Linked DNA regions of Homo sapiens: regions 2, 3 and 4 are each linked to region 1. Evidence: promoter capture Hi-C in 16 types of primary human blood cells and fetal thymus (Javierre and others, 2016). All regions are on one chromosome and are shown on one strand. Each heading gives the region's core, a stretch centred on a gene start or on the middle of the fragment in contact. The rest is flanking DNA. Distances are from core to core; before and after follow the strand shown.

Region 1 (4,614 bases), core at 1,945-4,444:
TGCAAGAAGACAAACTTCGACTCTCTATAATTTCATCCCTCACCCAATCTATCAGCTTCCCCATCCTTAGCCCTCTGCCCACCAAACTATCCTTAAAAAAAAAAAAACCTTAGGTGGGCCCGGTACGGTGGCTCACGCCTGTAATCCCAGCACTTTGGGAGGCCGAGGTGGGCGGATCACGAGGTCACGAGATCGAGACCATCCTGGTGAACACAGTGAAATCCCATCTCTACTAAAAATACAAAAAAATTAGCTGGGCATGGTGGCAGGTGCCTGTAGTCCCAGCTACTGGGGAAGCTGTGAGGCAGGAGAATGACGTGAACCCGGGAGGCAGGGCTTGCAGTGAGCTGAGGTCGTGCCACTACACTCCAGCCTGGGTGACAGAGCGAGACTCCAGTCTCAAAACAAAAACAAAAACAAAAACAAAAAAAACCCCTTAGGCTCTGAATTTTCAGGGAGATTGATTTGAGTAATAATACACTCCTGTGCTCCAGCTTGGCTGGCCCTACAATTGTTAAACTCTTCCTCTATTGCAAAAACCTGCATTGGCTTTTCCGGGTAACAAGCAAGATGAAACTGTTGGGCATTACAGTATGTATTTCAAATACTTTTTGCCAACTTATTATGTATTTTCCAAATTGTTTTTCAAACATAAAGACTTTTTCCTCTCCAAACATAATTCTGCAGGTACCTTTTCCCTATTTGCTATACTACGGTAGGTCAAGGAAAGCTTTCTGGAAGAAGTGACTTGTAATCCATAACTCCATGGGTGAGAAACACAAACCGGGTGAAGAGAGCAGGGAACAGTGTCACCAGCAGGAGGAACAGCATGTGCTTCATCACTCTTTCATGATATAGCCTCTACTTTCAGCACATCTGCTCCACTCACCTCTTGGACATTTTTGATCCCATACGGCTGGCTTGCTCCTGCCCCATCCTGGCCTTGACTATTCCTTTTAGCTTAGTTCCTTCCCCACTTGAACTGGTCTATCTCAAGGGTCTAATTTTTTAGTCCAAGGTGAGAATTTGTTGTGCTAGCTCATTCAGTCTTAGGTTGGCTGCATAAGGTGGAGTAATGGTGGCATAGGTTAGGTAATATGAAATAAAATGACACTTCTCCTCTTTTAGCAGGAGCTTAAGGTGGCAGTCTCCAATAAAAGGCATGTTGTTTTGGTACATAATGCTGACATTTATAGTCCAGTATGCACCTACCTTCCCACCTTCAGTCTGTATGTCAATGCAGGACTCAATGAACACTCATATATGATCAGTAAGTTAGCTTAGGCAAAGCTATGCTGTGGTAAAAAATAATGCTAAAATCTCAATGGCTTCAAACAAACATTTTGTGCATGTTACATGGCCAACACTAACTGGCTTAGGATCTGCTGTATTCCACACCTTCTCACTCCAGGACACAAGCTTAAGGAGAGTCCTTATCCGGGACATGCTGCTCTCCTGGGATAAGGAAAAGAGAAAGATGGTGGAACCATATGACTGCTCTTAAAGCTTATGTTTGGAAGGGGCATTCATTACTTCTGTTCACATTCCATTGCTCAAAGCAATTCCATGGCCAAGCCTAAGGTCCATGTGGAGGAAGGATACTCTTTCCATAGGAAGCGGCAGTAAATATTTTGAACAAATGAACATTCTTGCATAGTTTATTACAGCCGGTATCATTTGTCCCATTTTGCAGTGAGAAAACTAAGGCTAAAAGAGGTAATTTGATCAAGGTCATAGGTTAGAATTCAGCTCTGAATGGCTTCAAATTTGGTCCAGGCAAGCTCTTTTCAGATTTTTTTTTTTTTAACACTATGTAGGCACCTGGAATTGTAATTTACTCAGGGGCACAACCACTTCTCTTCAACTCCAGAAGCTTCTCCGTGCATCTCTAGAGCTAAACCACCCATGAAATCTTCCTGGAAGGATGTGAAGCTAGAAAGGGGTTGGGCTCGGGGAACTGTCCCTTTGAGAGCTGACTTTTCCATTTAGTAATTTTTTTTAACTCTTGAAGTATTTATCTGCTTGATGGGTTTGTAGATCCTTTGGACGGAGATCACCTATCATCTATCACCTTTTGTTTTGTCTGTGTGTGTGTGAGAGAGAGAGTCTGAGTTCCTCAAAGCTTTTTTCTAGGTAATTTTTGATACTTCAGATTACAATGGATATCTATATTCACAAAAAATATTAGTGGGATAGAAAGAGTATCTTTAGGTAGGAAGAGGGGCGCAGAAGTTACAGCCAACACAGAGAATCCTTCAATGTTTGTAAATATCTGTTAATTTCCCTTGCCTCTGGAGCAGTTTTCCCGGTTTCAGAGCCTCTGCTCCTAGGTGCACGTGCAGTGTGGTAGCAATGGATAGGTTTTGACTTGCCAGGTTTATGCGTGCCATTCAGGGCAGGGGATTAGGGTTAGGCCAGTGAGTGACCTAGGACACTCAATTTAAGGAAGCACTCGCACAAACCTGAGAGTTCGCGCGCCTCACCCCAGCCCAGCCGTGTGTCTGTTAAGCATTTATCATAATCCTGCTGCATGAAAATGCCCGGCGAGCTTACCTGTGAGGATCACCTGCCACTCCCCTCCTCCGCCAGACAACGCGGAGGGCCTCCCTGAGCTGTGACTTTGCTCCGCCGGTGATAATTTCCAGGTTACTGTGTAGGAGCGTCTGGCGCAGCATCGTGTGCGGAAGACCGAGAGAGGGAGTGTGCGTGTGAGCCTGTCAGGCCGGGCGGGTCCATATCCGGGTGGACCGGGTGGGTGGGGCTGCCCCTCCCTCCAGGTCCCGAGGTGGATAAGGGGTGGGGAGTGACGTGCAGAGATTCCCTTTCGCCCCTTCGGATCCAAGAGAGGGTGGCAGAAGGAATGCGTGGGTGACTTGGCGTGGATTTAGGGCGTGCCCACCCTGCAGATCGGCCTCCTAGAGTGTCCCGAGGGCCTGAGAGGCCGCAGGGACACGAAGGAAGAGAAGGAGGAACCCGAAGAGGGCTCGCCTAGCCGGCCACCCGCTCCGAACTTGCCCGGGAAACTAGTGCGGAGGGAGGGGCCGGGCCCTGGCCGCGGCGGGAGGAGGGGCGGCCGCAGCTGCATCCAGCCCCGTTGGCTTCCTTCCCAGCTCTCCTTCGCCTCCTCCTCCTCTTCCTCCTGTATGAGTCAGGCATTTCCCGGGGATTTGGAGCAGGCACGCGCGGCCCGGGCGTCCGGAGCTGTAGCAGCAGCAGCAGCCGCCGTGCCGGGGCCGCCACCGCGGCGGGCACCCGCGTCCCGGGCGCCCACGGACCATGGAGAGGGCAGTCCAGGGCACAGACGGCGGCGGGGGTAGCAACAGCAGCAGCCGCAGCAGCAGCCGTGCTACCTCGGCGGGCTCCTCGCCCTCCTGCTCTCTGGCGGGCCGGGGGGTCTCCAGCCGGTCGGCGGCGGCCGGGCTCGGCGGCGGGGGAAGCCGCAGCAGCCCGGGCTCTGTGGCCGCTAGCCCGTCCGGGGGAGGCGGCCGCAGGAGGGAGCCGGCGCTCGAGGGCGTGCTCAGCAAATACACCAACCTCCTCCAGGGCTGGCAGAACAGGTAACGCGCCAGCCGCCCGCGCCACCGCGCGCCGCTGTGTGTGTGTGTGTGTGTGTGCGTGCGTGTGTGTATGTGTGTCTGTGTATGTGTGTGCGCGCGCGATTGTGCCTTCAGCGAACCCAGTGATGCCTCCCAACGGTGCCCTTCCTGCGTCCCTGCTCCCCTCCAGGTGGGGTTCTCAGGATGGGGCGCGCCGTGGCTCCACCCCGGGACCGCACCGCAGTGGCGGGGAGGGAGGCGAGAGCCCTGGTTTTCTTCTATGCTGGCACCTGCAGAGACTGGAGTGGTGGCAGGAGGATCGTGCTGGTCCCCGTGCTCTGCTTGTCCGCGGTTTCCCGCACGCCTGAAGAATGACTGGGAAAGGGAGGCAGAAGGGGCGTGCTTTGTGCCGGGGTGAAAAAGCGTTAGCACGTCCGCTCCGATTACAGTAATTCTCTAAGTAACAGTTCATTTTAAAGTTTGGTGTTTCAGAACACCACCACCATCAACAAAAAACCTGCCACTTGTCATCCTGGGCGACTGTGCATACTCCTGCCCCAGTTTGTGCCTTGCAGCCTCCGATGTTTGTAATGGAAGTTTTGTTTAAAAACAGAAAGAGGCCGGGCGCGGTGGCTCACCTCTGTAATCCCAGTACTTTGGGAGGCCGAGGCGGGCAGATCACGAAGTCAGGAGTTCGAGACCAGCCTCGCCAACATGGTGAAAACCCGTCTCTACTAAAAACAAAAAAAATTAGCCGGGCGTGGCGGCGCGCCTGTAATTCCAGCTACTCCGGAGGCTGAGGCAGGAGAATCGCTTGAACCCCGGAGGCAGAGGTTGCAGTGAGCCGAGATCGCGCCATTGCAATCTAGCCGGGGCGACAGTGCGAGACTCCGACTCAAAAAAAATAAATAAATAAAATAAAATAAAATAAAATAATAAAAAGAAAGAAAAAATACCCTCCCCCTTTTAATATTAGTAGCAATTTACATTATTATCATTATTTCCTCTTCAGGTCCCATTTGAAGTTTCCTGCTCACTTCCCCCTTGCAGTTGAGAAGCCTAGTTATGGACACGTGGA
Region 2 (4,743 bases), core at 703-3,202, 430 kb after region 1:
CTTTTTAAAAAGGTGAATCAGGCTTCTTTCATTTAACATGTTTTTGAGATATATTCATATACCAACAGTTTATTCTTTTTTACTGCTGAGTAGTATTCCATTTAATGCATACTACAATCCATTCCCCTTCTGAAGGGCATTTGGGTTGTTTCCGGGGGAGGAAATAATAAGGCTGTACATTCATTCTTATAAAATATGAACAAGCATTCTTGTAAAAGCCTTTTTTAAGGACACAGGTTTTCACTTCTTTGGGTGAATACTTAGCAATTCCACTCCAAAGTTATATAGTAGACACGTATTTAAGAAATACTAAACAGTTCTCCAAAATAGTTACCATTTACACTCCCATCAGCAATGTACAGGAGTTCCAGTTCCTCCCTATCAAGTTTTATTTGGTTTTTTTTTTTTTTTTTTGAGACGGAGTTTCGCTCTGTCGCCCAGGCTGGAGTGCAGTGGCGCGATCTCGACTCACTGCAAGCTCCGCCTCCCGGGTTCACGCCATTCTCCTGCCTCAGCCTCCCGTGTAGCTGGGACTACAGGCACGCGCCACCATGCCCGGCTAATTTTTGTATTTTTAGTAGAGACGGGGTTTCACCGTGTTAGCCAGGATGGTCTCGATCTCCTGACCTCGTGATCCGCCCGTCTCGGCCTCCCAAAGTGCTGGGATTACAGGCGTGAGCCACCGTGCCCGGCCTTATTTGGTTTTAAGAGCCTATCTTATGTATCACACTGGGTGCTAAAGATACTAGCAAACAGGACGGACCTGTCCTCACAAAGCTTACTGTCCAAAGGACTCGTGGATGGCTTCTACAACTGACATCTAACTTAAACCTGGATGAATTATTGAGCAAAAAGGCAGGAAAAGAGGAGAAGTGTTCTTGAGAGAGGAAAGAACACTCGTAAGGGTTAAAAAATACACATAGGTAGTTTTCATAATGCTAACAGAAAATAAAGATAGAACAAGTTTTGTGATGGCAGAAATATGCTTTAAAAAAAAAGGTAAGAAAGCAATGTAGTAAGTATAAGTTTTTAAAAGTCAAATAAGGATTCCTAAAAAGACAATGTGTTTAGTTTATCTCCCTATTATAAGCTCTCATTGTATCATGTTCCTTGACAGCATTGGTCATTCTTACTGGTTCAAGTCTAACTCCCTCACTAAACTAGAATCATGTCTATTTGGGTTCACACTACTGTAGCCATAGTCCCTGGCAAGTAAGAGGTATTCAATCAATATTTTTTGATTACATGAGATCAGAGAGAAGTTAGGTAGTAACATTCAGAGATGGAAAGAAAGGTTTACGAAGGGTATTTGTATTAGTTTCCTATTGCTTATACAGCAATTTTAAACAAACTCAGTGGCTTAAACCAACATATACTAATTCTATCATAGCTTCATGGGTCAGGAATCTAGGCACAGTTTAGCTGGATCTTCTGTTTAGGGTCGCACAAGGTTGACATCAGGATGTCACCAGGGTTGGGTTCTTATGTGGAGGCTAAATTAGGGAAATAATCTGCTTCCAAGCTCACTCAGGCTTCTAGCAGAATTCACTTCCTTGAGGTTATAGGACTGAGGGGCCCTGGTTTCTTCCTGGCTGTTGGTGGAAACATCATAGAGGCTGTTAGTAGTTCCTTGCCACATAGGCTTCCCTAACAGGGCTGCTTATCTTATAATGCCAGCAAGGAGTCTCTGGTGCAAGTCTACTGGTAAGACAAAGTTTTACACAACGTCACATAATCACGGAAGCAACATCCCATCACCCTAGACTCTGTCTATCACTCTGTTCTTCAAAGACTATCAATTAACAGGCTCTCTTGAAAATAACCCTTTCTGTAAAGATTTACAAAGCCACCTATAACAGTTTGTTGTTACACATACGACTACCAAAACTGGCCAAGTTAACATGTATTCGTGGGAACGGTAAATGAGAAAGCGACTAGTACCACCAACAGAAATGACCAATTATGGATGCTAACGTAAGCATAAAAGAATCAGGAAAGAGGCCAGGCACAGTGGCTCATGCAGGTAATCCCAGCACTCTGAGAGGCCAAGGTGGGTGGATCACTTGAGCCCAGGAGTTCAAGACCAGCCTGGGCAACATGGCAAAACCTGTCTCTACCAGAAATTTTTCAAAATTAGCCAGGCGTGGTGGCATGCGCATGTAGTGCCAGCTACTTGAGAGGCTAAGGTGGGAGGATCATTTGAGCCTGGGAGGCGGAGGTTGTAGTGAGCCGAGATGACACCACTGCACTCCACTGTGGGTGACAGAACAAGACCCTATCAAAAACCAAACAAACAAACAAACAAACAAACAAAAAACACCCAAAAACCACAATCAGGAAATAAAGGAAAGGAGTACAATTCAACAAAGGGAGAAGAAAAATAGAAAAGTAAAAGGCAAAAGACAAAGTGTTAGAACACCTCAAGGATTATTCTATTCTTTCTCCTTTACCCTATTAGTAGGCCCTCTCAGGCTATATAAGGTACCAGATCTTTCTTATAGGACTAAGTACCACTATTTGCAACACTTCATATATACCCAAAATTCAGCACTAATAGGGACAGAGAACAACCAAGGTAAAGTACAAAGCAGCTAAGGCCAACTAAAGTTGGCATTTCAATCTACCTTTTATTGCTCCTGCCATCTAGTGGCAGGATCAAAAACAAAAGGATGCCAGACTGATGAACTCTATTAAAAGTAACACATGGAAAAAAAAAATCCCCCTTCAATAGAACGAAAAAAACAGCCTAAATTCAATCTCACCAAGTGATACACACGAGCACTGTCTAGATAATCACATTAAACATAGCCAATTTTATAACTTAAAATATGGAAACTCATGAGAGAGTTATGCTCAAGCCTAATATGATTACATAAATTCCTATCAGTGTTTAAGTAACAGCAGGAAAACAATGATAGAAATTCATAAGGATTACTAATGATATATGAGAATAACTTTTTTTACTAGGTTAACTCTGAAGGGAAAGACTCACAAATGTCATACCACCATAAATGTGACACTGTACAGTTGCAACTGGATCTCAGACTACTCTCACAAACCTCTCTCTCTGCTCTTGCAACTGATGGGTGGTCATTTTGATTGAAGCAGAGAGCATGTCATAAGCTTCAGATAACAAAGTACCTGTCTCTCTACTTTGAGCAACACAGAGAGAAAACCAAAGGTTGTTTAAAGGCTGCAAAAATGTCTTGAAGACTCCTTAGAGCTACTCTGCATCTTCCAATTTAAAGTCAGATGCATGTGCAAATCAAAAAAGAACACACAGGGCAAAACTTTTAAACACACATTAACTGAAAACAGGATTCCTATTTTAGTACCATCTCTTAATTTCTGCCTTAACTGGCAGTGACAGCTGTCAATTTTTATCAGTATCCATTTGAAAAAGGAGGGTCTATTCTGATTTATAAAGGACATTTACTAAACTAATTGGAAAAAAGAAAAAGCAACTGACAACAAAAAAAATTACAACAAAATAAGAGGCTGTTAGAGCATTTTAATGGCACTAAAAAAATCTGAAAAAAAAATCTAAGATCACATACAAAATAGTATATTTGATCAATTAAAACTATCCGGTGACACTTTGCTCAGCTAAGCCCAATAGAGATGGAAATCTAAATAATGTAGGCAGAAGGGATGGGCACAAGTGTTCTTTCTCTTTATATAACGCACGCACAACGTGTATAACATATATTTAAGTCCGGCATAACTATTCATATATTATAGAAACAAATCTCCAATAAATATTATATGTAAACATGTTATATTTACATTTCTTTATTGTTACTAGATATTATCTAAATTAGACATATGATTATGCATTATACTATATAAAGAGGATTTCTAACAATTATTAGATATAGAAATACATAATACACGTTTAAGTCAGACCCATAGTCATATACTATAAATATAAAATGTATAACTAACAAGCATTATCCATAGTAATAATATCCCATGGCCCACAAGTTGGTGTGATGAAAGAGCCAAAGTGGTTGGACAACTAATAAACTCATAAGCAAAATGACCAACTTTCTGAGGACAGTCTCGGTGGAAAGCAACAGCACAAGGTAAACTAAAATAAAACAATCACTCAAAATAAGCAATGTATACAGGCCTGAGAACTTAACTATCATAGAAGTTAGTGGTATAATACTCAACTTAGTCACCAAGACAAATCAGGAGAATCAGGGGGGATGCTATCAATGAGCAGATACTCAACTGTCCCATTTGAAAAAAAAAGTATGTTCCTAATGTGGATATACTTGTTCCTAATGCAGTAATTCAAATAAACAAATAAAAAGATTTAAAACACTGAAGAAAGTCAGTCCTAGTTTTATTATCTCTACGACTTTGGTAAAGTTACTTAGCCTTAGGCCTCAGGCTCCTCATCTATCAAATAAAACATCTACATCAGTCTTTTCCATGAATTGCATGGAACATTAATTAAAAAAAAATTAAAATCTTACAGTGATTCATAAATTAAATACGGTAAATACCAGATTAAATAAAATTAACAGTTAACTGAACAACTTCTTAAGACTGTAACATGGTAATGTGTATTGCATATCAGTATCAAAGAATGTAGTAAGCAGTTTTTTTCCCAAATTCAAATTATCAAAGATTATTTTGCTTAGAAGTGTAATTTCTGGAATATGTGGTCTGCAGAACATACTTTGGCAAAATAATAATTTCTTTGTGCTCGCCAGGTATGAAGTTTGTTCCATA
Region 3 (4,852 bases), core at 68-2,567, 380 kb after region 1:
CCATATTTTCACAATTACAAGTTATACCACAGTAAATATCCCTAAATTTGACTTCATATCTTTAATAATTTCCTTATGACATGAACACAAAGTATGATAAGCTTTAATCAAATTAGAAAGCTTAAATCACTTCACATCCCATCAGTTTTACTGTGATTTCCTGCAAGCCATTCTTTCTACAAATGCAACATAAGGTTTGGGTGTTCCTTTTAAAACAGTAGAATCCTATGCATAACATAATTTTTAAACATTTACTTCCCAATATAGTGAAATTCACCAAGTCAAAAATATCTCTTAACAGAAAATTAAATTTTTCCTCCCAAAATTTCAAGTAGAGACGGCCTCCCATCTCAGCTTTTCTTACACCTCCCTTGCTCAATTCCCATGCCACTCTTCTACCACTATACATCCACATTACCACCCATGTGCCTCCTTTTCCACATGTGAATAAACTTTGACAGTTTTCTGTGGTTGTGCTACAATTGATTTTAAGGACACTTGAAAAAATCTACTCAAAGAGGACACAACTTTTTCATAATTATTTAAAATAATTCAAGTCATTTAATTCAACACTTAGAACAACACAACTAAACTTTTAGTTAATATAATTATGAGTCTGACATTTATCAATCCTTATTTTTTTTTACCTAAACATTTCTGCTCAAGGGGAGAGAGAACAAAAGACAAAGGATGTTACGTGCCAAAATCAAAGAACTTTATATACAAACACTTTACAATGCTTCCATAGTTTTTAGGACCATTAAGTTAAGAGAAATTGAACTTAAATCCTGACACACTCTGGATGAAGGAAGAGCAACACTTGCTCTATCATACTACTTTCCATCCATTTAGAAGTAAACCCTAAGAAAGCAGACTAGAAATCATCAAAATACTCCTGGATAATTATAAGTAAAAGAAACAAGTTGGGTAGAGTGGAGAATTTGAACATTATGAACATTAGCTTTATACACACATACATCCCTAACCCATTTTATTATTCTTTCTTCTTAAAATACTCTCAAGAATCAACCAAAGTAGTATGAATTTCATATTTTTCTAGAGTGACCAAAAAAAAAAAAAAAAAAAAAATCCCAGCTACCAAATACAAAGGCCTTTCTCAAATTCTAATCCTTTGAAATCTTGGTGCTAAGGTTAAAGGGGAGTTGGACACTGCTTGAATTTTAAACTTTTATGTAGAATATACTTCCATCTGACCATTTTAACAATATACTTATTTGACTACTTCTGACATCTCCTTTGGCTCTTCTTCCTGAATCATGGCATTTCATAAAGTGTATTTCTCAATCTTCTCTCTCTTGTATTCCTCTGACCATTAAATTTCCAAGATCCCCAATTTTTAAATTTACACAAAACAACAACAACAGCAGCAACAACAAAACACCCTCTTAGTTCCTTCACTGTAACCATTTAACTTAAAAAAAAAAAGTTTAATCTGTTATTTATTATTCTCCTTTCTGGATCCCAACTACTGTTTATAGTGTTTTTGGGGTAGAGAAATACATAGGTGTATGTATTTCAACAGTACGGTTATTTGTTTAAACGAGAGGCACACAGATTTGGTGGTTTTTAGCATCATGGGCCATTCATTCAGTCATTCATGCAATCAGAGACAGGTCTCCTTCTGTCACCCAGGCTGGAGTGCAGTGGCAAGATCACAGCACACTGCAGTCTTGAACTCCTGGACTCAAGTGGAACTCCAGCCTCAGCCTCCTGAGTAGCTGGGATAAGAGGTGTGAGCTACTACAGCTGGCTCATTACAGGCTTTAAAGCCAAAATCTGAGTTCAAGCCTCAGCCCCGTTATTAGCTACATGATCTTTAGCAAATTATTATGTCTCCTCTTGTTTCCTCACCTGTAAAATGAGAATAGTACCTACCCTCACAGTATCAAATGAAAAAGTATGCTGAAATGGCTATAAATGTAATATACTATGCTTTTTTATTTTGTTGAGATACAATTAATATACTATAAAATTTATCTTTTAATAACCTATCATGTAATGGTTTTTGGTGTATTCACAAGGTTGTGCGACCATCACTACTATATAATTCTAAAATATTTCCTCATCCTTGAAAGAGACCCCATATCCATTCAACAGTCACACCTCTCCTCTCCTCTCCACATTCTCCTCCTCCTAAATCCCCAGGCAACCACTAATCTACTTTCTGTTGCTATGGATTTACCCATTCTGGACATTTCCCACAAACTCTACTTTCTGTTTCTATGGATTTGCCTATTCTGGACATTTCACACTAACAGAATCATATACTATGTGGCCTTTTATGTCTGGCTTTTTTACATAATGGTATAAAGTTTTCAAGGTTCATGTTGTAGCATATATCAGTATTTTATTCCTTTTCATGGCTTAATAATACACCATTGTATGAATATACCATATTTTATGGTTTCATAAAGCTGATAGACATTTGGGTTGTCTTCATTTTTGGCCATTATGCACAATAAATGCTGCTATAAACATTCACATAGAAGCTTTTGTATGAATATATGTTTTCGGTTCTCTTGGGTAAATACCTAGGAGTGGAACTGCTTGGTCATATGACGAATCTATGGTTAACTTCTGAGAAATTGCCAAGCTACTATGCTTTTGAAAATGAATTTAATTAAGATTTATCTTTGTGTTATTGTTTTCCAAAAACATTATTATAATAGAATTGTATTATTTTACTAAGACACTGGTTTCAGTTCACAATTGCTCTCTAGTTCCTTCAACCCATAGAAGTTCTAACTCTATCATGGAAAATGAGATCTAAGGTGAAACATCATCTACCGCTAAACATCACAGTGAAAATATTGTTTTAAAACCTGTAGAGAAAAATGAACATTTTTCTAGAGACAACAGAGACTCAGTCTATTAGTACATTATCCAAAAAAGAGCTTCTGAAAGCTTATTAAGCTGCTTACTTTGAGGATGTCAATCTCTTACAGTAAGTTGAATTCGATATAAAAAATGTGAACGATTTTCATGATAAAAATTCCCATTCCCCAAAATTAAGAGGAGGAAAAAGTGTAGACAAATATTAAACCCAGACTAATTTCTACAAAAACGAAAAAAAAACTTGTCAAGGAAAAGTTGATGACAAAGCACTTATATAAAAATGCCTGACCTTATCAATATAAACAGCAAAATGAACACAAAATTATTTTTACCTTTTCATGCATAATATTGACCAAATAGAAATATCTCTTCAATAAAATGAATGAATACAAAACATCTCTTAGTTGACAGATGTCAAAAATCAAATTACTTACCTATGTAGACTCTTTTGCTGTATCTCTGCATCAGTAACAACACAAATACATGCAGTGGAATAAGATTGATGATAAATACATAACCACCCCAAGCAGAGACCTATAGGAAAAGAAGTGCTAAGTTAAATATATATTTTTACTTTTTAAAATAAGTATATTTAGGAATCTAAACATACAATGAGCAAATATAAACATTAAGATTTTAGCAATTTTGAGAAATGCTTAAATAAGAACTTACTAACCTATGAAGAACGTATTCCTCATTTTTATTGATCATTAAAATAACACGATCCCACAAATCCAATATGCTTTTCCAAACGCACTGGAGAAATGTTCAAATTAAATTAGATTTAATAGAAAAGCTGAGAGTATTATAATTTGTGAATTGTCAGTAAACAGACTGTCATAGAGACAAGGAGTTTTAGGATATAGATCATAAATTTTGAAAATAAAAAAACGGGTTTTACCTCACCCACTTTTTATGACAAATTTGTTGTAAGAAAGGTCACTGAGAGTAAGAGCAATGAAAGGACTCACTGACAACTAAAAAAAATTCAGATGACATGAATACGCTTTGAGATTCTCAAAACTAAAAGTGCTAGTTGGGCATGAATTTTTTTCTTAAAAATGGATTACAAAGCAAGATCCCATTTTAATCTTTGGCTTATACAATATACACTATTTAGCCAGAATAACTGAGGATGTTCTTGGTCTACATTAATGAATATTCTAAAGAGAATCTCCATTCTCAACCAATAGAATTAATTAATTTTTTGGTACACTAAATAATAGGTAATAAGCTCCTGTCAATATCAAAGTTCTTAGATGTCCTCTAATAATCAGAGCTTGAAAGGCTCATTTGTATCAACAGTCATGTTAGCAGACTATATGCTAGCATATCTATTCCAATAATGCTTCTCTTACGTAAAATATTTCAGAACCCCTTGTGGAGAACTGCCATCAGTTTTCAATACATACATCAGTTTTCTGCCTTGGTCACATGCTATTTTTCACAAAAAACAATGTTATTCTAATGGAGCGCCAGTCCTATCTGAAAGACTTCTGATTACTTTAAAAATTTAAGTCTAAATTTGAAAGAGAACAAGTTTGATATTGCTAAGTACAACTACCCAGAATGTGCCCCAGGCTCTAACCACTTTAACTCAGATAACTTGGATGCACATATTCCATGACATTTGTTTAAAAAGAAAAAAAAGATTAGCTCAAATTGTCATTAATTTTCAAAACAAGACTACTATACAGGCTATGGTGTAGAAAAAAAGAGAAAGAAGAATAAAAAGGTAATACTGAACCCCAATCTTAAGAAACCTGTTTAAAAAAATATGTAGGTGGCTGGGCACATTGGCTCACGCCTGTAATCCCAGCACTTTGGGAGGCCGAGGCAGGCGGATCACCTGAGATCAGGAGTTCGAGACCAGTCTGACCACATGGAGAAATCCTGTCTCTACTAAAAATACAAAAATCAGCCAGGCATGGTGGCACATGCCTGTAATCCCAGCTACTCGGGAGGCTGAGGCAGGAGAATCGCTTGAACCCAGGAG
Region 4 (4,368 bases), core at 367-2,866, 450 kb after region 1:
AAATGCGACCTTCTCTCGCCCTTTTTCGTTTGTACTCCGAATTGCGAAAGTACTGTATGTTCACTGGAAATATGGGAAAATGCAGAAATACATTAACGGCTGCATACATTCCGTCGAGTGAGTGAAACTAACTTACCCTGGACGTTAAGCTGTTTCCAGTTCTCACTTTACTAAATAATAATAGAACGAAGGTTCTTGTGCACGTCTACCTTGTATTTTTATAATTCCTTTCCTTTCCCCACTTCCCTCCTTGTCCGCTAAAATAAAGTGCTACCAGATAAACTCAGGGCAAAATGAGCTTAAACTAAGTGAGGTAGTGGGGAGACTCGAATTGCTCTTATATAAACCCCATAGAAAGTACGGAGCTTTCGGCGTAATCGGTGCTCAGTAAATACTTGTTCATGTCAATTCACAGCTAATTGTACATTTTATTAGGTAAGTAACATCTGGATATTAAAGGGCATATTAATGTAAAACTATAAAGGCCCTGAATTATTTTCTTAGGTGATTTAAATTTTTCTCTTTAACTACAAATTGTGTTTCAATATTAATAGAAGTCTTAAAATATTAGATAAATGAACCCTAGTTATTTTGAGGTAGCTCCTTGAAAGTAAGGCAACTCCAGCTACCCTTTTAACCTGCTAAGTGGTTACGTTTTGTCTTGTTTCCTTAAAAAAACCATAAATAGTCTTATTAAGGAAATAATGAAAAGGTTTCCAGAAATAGACTTTCTCACCAACAGTTTAATAGCCGACATTTATTGAACGTACACATTTTAATGAGAATTAGGATAAAATATTAACTGCCTCTGTTATACAGAGAAAGATGACATGCTTTTCCTCATAGCCCAAACGGTACATGCTGAAATGACAGCAGAGGATTTTTGTCTGTGTTCCCTGAACCAAAGTTTTATCAGTCTAAAATAAAATTTGTGTTTTTATTTTAATTTGTTTGGATATTTCTATTTTATTGTCTTTGTGTATCTATTCCCTAGTAAGTTCTACGTTATCTTCTTTTGCTTCCTGTTTTGGCTGTTTAATGGCCATAGGCCTGATCTGAAAAGTGACAAAGTGAAATAGTCCCAAATTGTTGCTTACTAGTCATGTAGCATTGGACAAGTCACCTGCATGGGTTGCCCTTTCTGCTCTTAAAGTCAGTTGTTAATATTAAAAAAGCTTATCTGAAAGCATTTTAGGAAATTGTTAAGGAACGTGCAAATACAGGGTAGTGGTAAAGGTGAAAAGCCCTACGAAAACCCCTTGATTTTTGACCTTCATTTATTCACTCATTCATTCAGCAAGTATATATTGAACTCCTTTATGCCGACCACTGTGAGTGAACTGGGATGCATGGGGATTCAGCTAGGAACAGGAAAGACAGGGCTCCTACTCTCAGAGAGTTCACCAGCCAGCCCTAGGAAGGGAGGTATTAACCAAATCATCAGATGGTTCAGGACCAAAATGCAGGGTGACAAACACTGTGGAGGACAGGCACATGGGGAATTTGATCTACACCAGAAGGATGAGAAACATTACCCTGAGGAAGCAGCACTGGAAGTGATGATGAACGGACGAGGAGAAGGAGAATGGAACGCGTTACATAGAGAAGCACGTGCAAAGGCACTGCAGTGGGGCAGGGGAGGCATACGAGTAACCCAGAAAAGTGGCTGCAATGCAGACAGTGGGACAAGGTGCAGTAGGAGTCAAAGGAATGGCCGGGTAGTGTAGGTCCTTTTAAGAGGTGTTTTTTGCTTCATGTTAACTTCAGAATATTGAGAAGCCATAAAGGGTTTTAAGCAGCATGTAGTGTATTTGAGATAGAGGGAGAGAGTTGATCAGATGTGTGTTTTGAAAAGATTACCAAGGCTGCAATGTGAAAAGCATTTTGGAGAGGAGACCAGTAAAAGCTCTACCTGAGAATTCAGAGATTACTTTTGTGAGGAATATGCTATTGTGGAACCACTAGAGAACCCATAAAAATAAATTGCAGCATTGTGAATTCACAATTTCTAGCCTATCAACTTGGAAAAATTGTTTACAGTTTGTGATGAAGCTTGAATGTGTTTGCCCCTTTGCACTTGAGGTTCTAATCCTGCTAGGTGCTTGTAACATCCTCCTGAGTTCAAATATCTCAGGAGTCAATCAAACACTATGGGTGCAACATGATGAGCAGAGTGGTGTGACATCAGAGGCCCAGCTTCCAGGGGAAGGGAGTATTTGAGTTGAAACTTGAGGGGTGAGCAGAAGTTCACAAGACACACCAGGAAGAGGGATGGGGGATTCCAAGAAGGAACGAGGAAGTCCTTCAAATTAATACACAAAGTTTAATATTAATGAAGGTGCATTGGGAGATGAGACTGAAAGAGGGATAAGAACCAGATTATCAAGGACTTGTCTGCCTGGTAAAGGAGTTTATTATTCTGTAAGCAGCTGGGATTCATTGAAACATTTTGAACAACAATAACATGATCAGACTTGGTTGATGGAAGAAAAAAATTGACAGTAGTATGAAAGATGTACTGGAAAGGGTGAGAGTGGAAGCAGAGAAACCAATAAGGAAGCATTTACAGAAATTTAGGCAAGAGAATTAGGTACCAAAACTGGGACAGTAGGGCTCAGAGAGGAGAGGACTGATAGGAGAGGTATCAAGAGGGTAGAGTCCAGAAATTGGTGATTGGGGTAAAATAAAAGTAGGGTTTAGGACAAATCTGGAGTTTCTGGTTTAGTTATTTGGATGGAAAGTGATGTCTCAGAAATAGGGAGCAAAGGACAAGCAGCAGATTTGGAGGGGAGATGATCAAATCAGCTTTGGAGATGTAATGTTTTAAGTCCCTGTAGGACATCCAAGAGGAGCTGGATAACAGACACTTAAAGAGATGTGATGTTCAGGAGGAAGGGTTTTCTGGGATAAAGGCTTGGGACTCCATGGCTACGGGTGAAATTTTGCTGGAATCAAGGCTATAGACAAGGAGACAAGGGTTGAGGATAGAGCCCTAAGGACTTTCCAAATTTAGATGTGCCTACAGGGAGCCCAAGATAGAGCAATGTCCCAGCAGTGAAGAAAGGGAAATAAAGTGAAGTCAGAAGCAGCACAAGGTACAGAGAAATGGAGTGTGACACAGCTGAAAAGTGTACCTTTCTTTTGGCAACCAGGAGTTCACCAATTACTTTAGCAAGGTCAATTTTAGTGGAGTCATAGGGGCAGAAACCAGATGGCAGCAGGTGAGAAGGGATCAGTGGCAAGGGATGTGGAGGCAGAGAATGTATACCACCCTTTCTAAAAGTCTGGTTTCAAAAGCACAGACAGGACCAAATCAGACCAAGAAAAAACTAAATTACGATCCGCAGTCCCTAGCCTTTCCCACAGTGATCAAGAAAAGATTTAAGTGCCTGTGATGTGTCCCAGGAATGACACAGGTCGGAGAGTGGGTTTCATTCTTCCTAGAGAAACACAAACAACAAGACATGTACGCTTGTACTAGACACACCACACTAGGGGGCTGCTACGGTCTACAATATAATTGACATTTGCAAATATCTGGTAACTGAGGGAATTCCCAATGCTTATATTGTCCCTTTCTGACAAGCACCTGTCAAAGAACCTCCCTGGTAGTCCATAGCCCCAGTAGAGGAGAGAAGCAGAGAGGGAGAAAAAAGATTTGAGCTAGGTATGCTGCTAAGTGGTACTGTGTGGTGGTTTAGAGCACAGGCTCTGCAGACACGCTGGGTACCAAATCTTGACTTTAGTTCTTCTGAGTCACATGGCTTTTGGCAAGCTACTTCCCATCTCTGCTCCTTGGTATCCTCATCTTTACAGCGTAGATAAGCACTGAACCTTTCTCTTAGGGTTATAAGAAGAAATAAATGAATCAATACATGAAAATAACTTAGGACAGTGCCTGGCGCAAAGGAAATATTCAATATATGTTGGTTATTAACAATATCACTGGTACTACTGCTATATTCAGAACCATGACAGATGGGCTATGAGACTTACTCCCCTGGATAGCCTTAAAATAATTCTCCATGACCCGAGCCCATACGAGTGCTTCTTTATTTCTTTAAGCCAGAAAATGCCTGCTTCAAATAAAACACCTTACAAAGTTAGGCAATACCTAGCTGCTGATAATGAATAATAACCTCCAATTTATAATCCAATAGAACTGGGGTCTGCAACTTTTTTTGTAAAAGGCAACACAGTAAATATTTTCATCTTTGTGGGCCATGCTGTCTCAGGCTACTACTCAACCCTGTTGTTGTAGTGTGAAAGTAGCAATGGACAATATGTAAGAGAACAGGCATGGCTGTTCTTCAGTAAACACAACCACACCTGCAGACCAGAGTTTGTTGGCCTTTGCGGTAGATGATA

The links. Contacts are between HindIII fragments. The CHiCAGO score rates a contact against its expected background, and 5 or more counts as called.
Region 2: a fragment that was not itself captured here is called in contact with the fragment with the promoter of OSBPL10 in region 1 in 1 of 17 cell types (endothelial precursors); the score reaches 5.2 in endothelial precursors.
Region 3: a contact is called between a fragment that was not itself captured here and the fragment with the promoter of OSBPL10 in region 1, in 1 of 17 cell types (endothelial precursors). The highest score is 5.2, in endothelial precursors.
Region 4: a fragment that was not itself captured here is called in contact with the fragment with the promoter of OSBPL10 in region 1 in 1 of 17 cell types (naive B cells); the score reaches 5.1 in naive B cells.

What each region holds. Positions count from the first base shown.
Region 1 is chr3:31,979,842-31,984,455 of GRCh38, reverse strand. OSBPL10 (oxysterol binding protein like 10) reads left to right here and starts at 3,194. Exons shown (of 12, transcript NM_017784.5): 1 at 3,194-3,557. The coding sequence starts at 3,277. ZNF860 (zinc finger protein 860) reads right to left here and starts at 2,706. Exons shown (of 2, transcript NM_001137674.3): 1 at 2,554-2,706. RefSeq lists a silencer at 3,435-3,504. The HindIII fragment of the contact is 3,310 bases long and covers 2,125-4,614 here.
Region 2 is chr3:31,548,773-31,553,515 of GRCh38, reverse strand. The region is part of intron 1 of STT3B (STT3 oligosaccharyltransferase complex catalytic subunit B); the gene reads right to left. Among named protein-coding and RNA genes, the nearest start is that of STT3B, 18 kb to the right of the region's middle. The HindIII fragment of the contact is 2,346 bases long and covers 780-3,125 here.
Region 3 is chr3:31,598,898-31,603,749 of GRCh38, reverse strand. It overlaps STT3B (STT3 oligosaccharyltransferase complex catalytic subunit B), which reads right to left. Exons shown (of 16, transcript NM_178862.3): 5 at 3,291-3,390. Among named protein-coding and RNA genes, the nearest start is that of STT3B, 68 kb to the right of the region's middle. The HindIII fragment of the contact is 2,390 bases long and covers 123-2,512 here.
Region 4 is chr3:31,527,489-31,531,856 of GRCh38, reverse strand. No RefSeq gene overlaps it. Among named protein-coding and RNA genes, the nearest start is that of STT3B, 3.3 kb to the left of the region's middle. The HindIII fragment of the contact is 877 bases long and covers 1,178-2,054 here.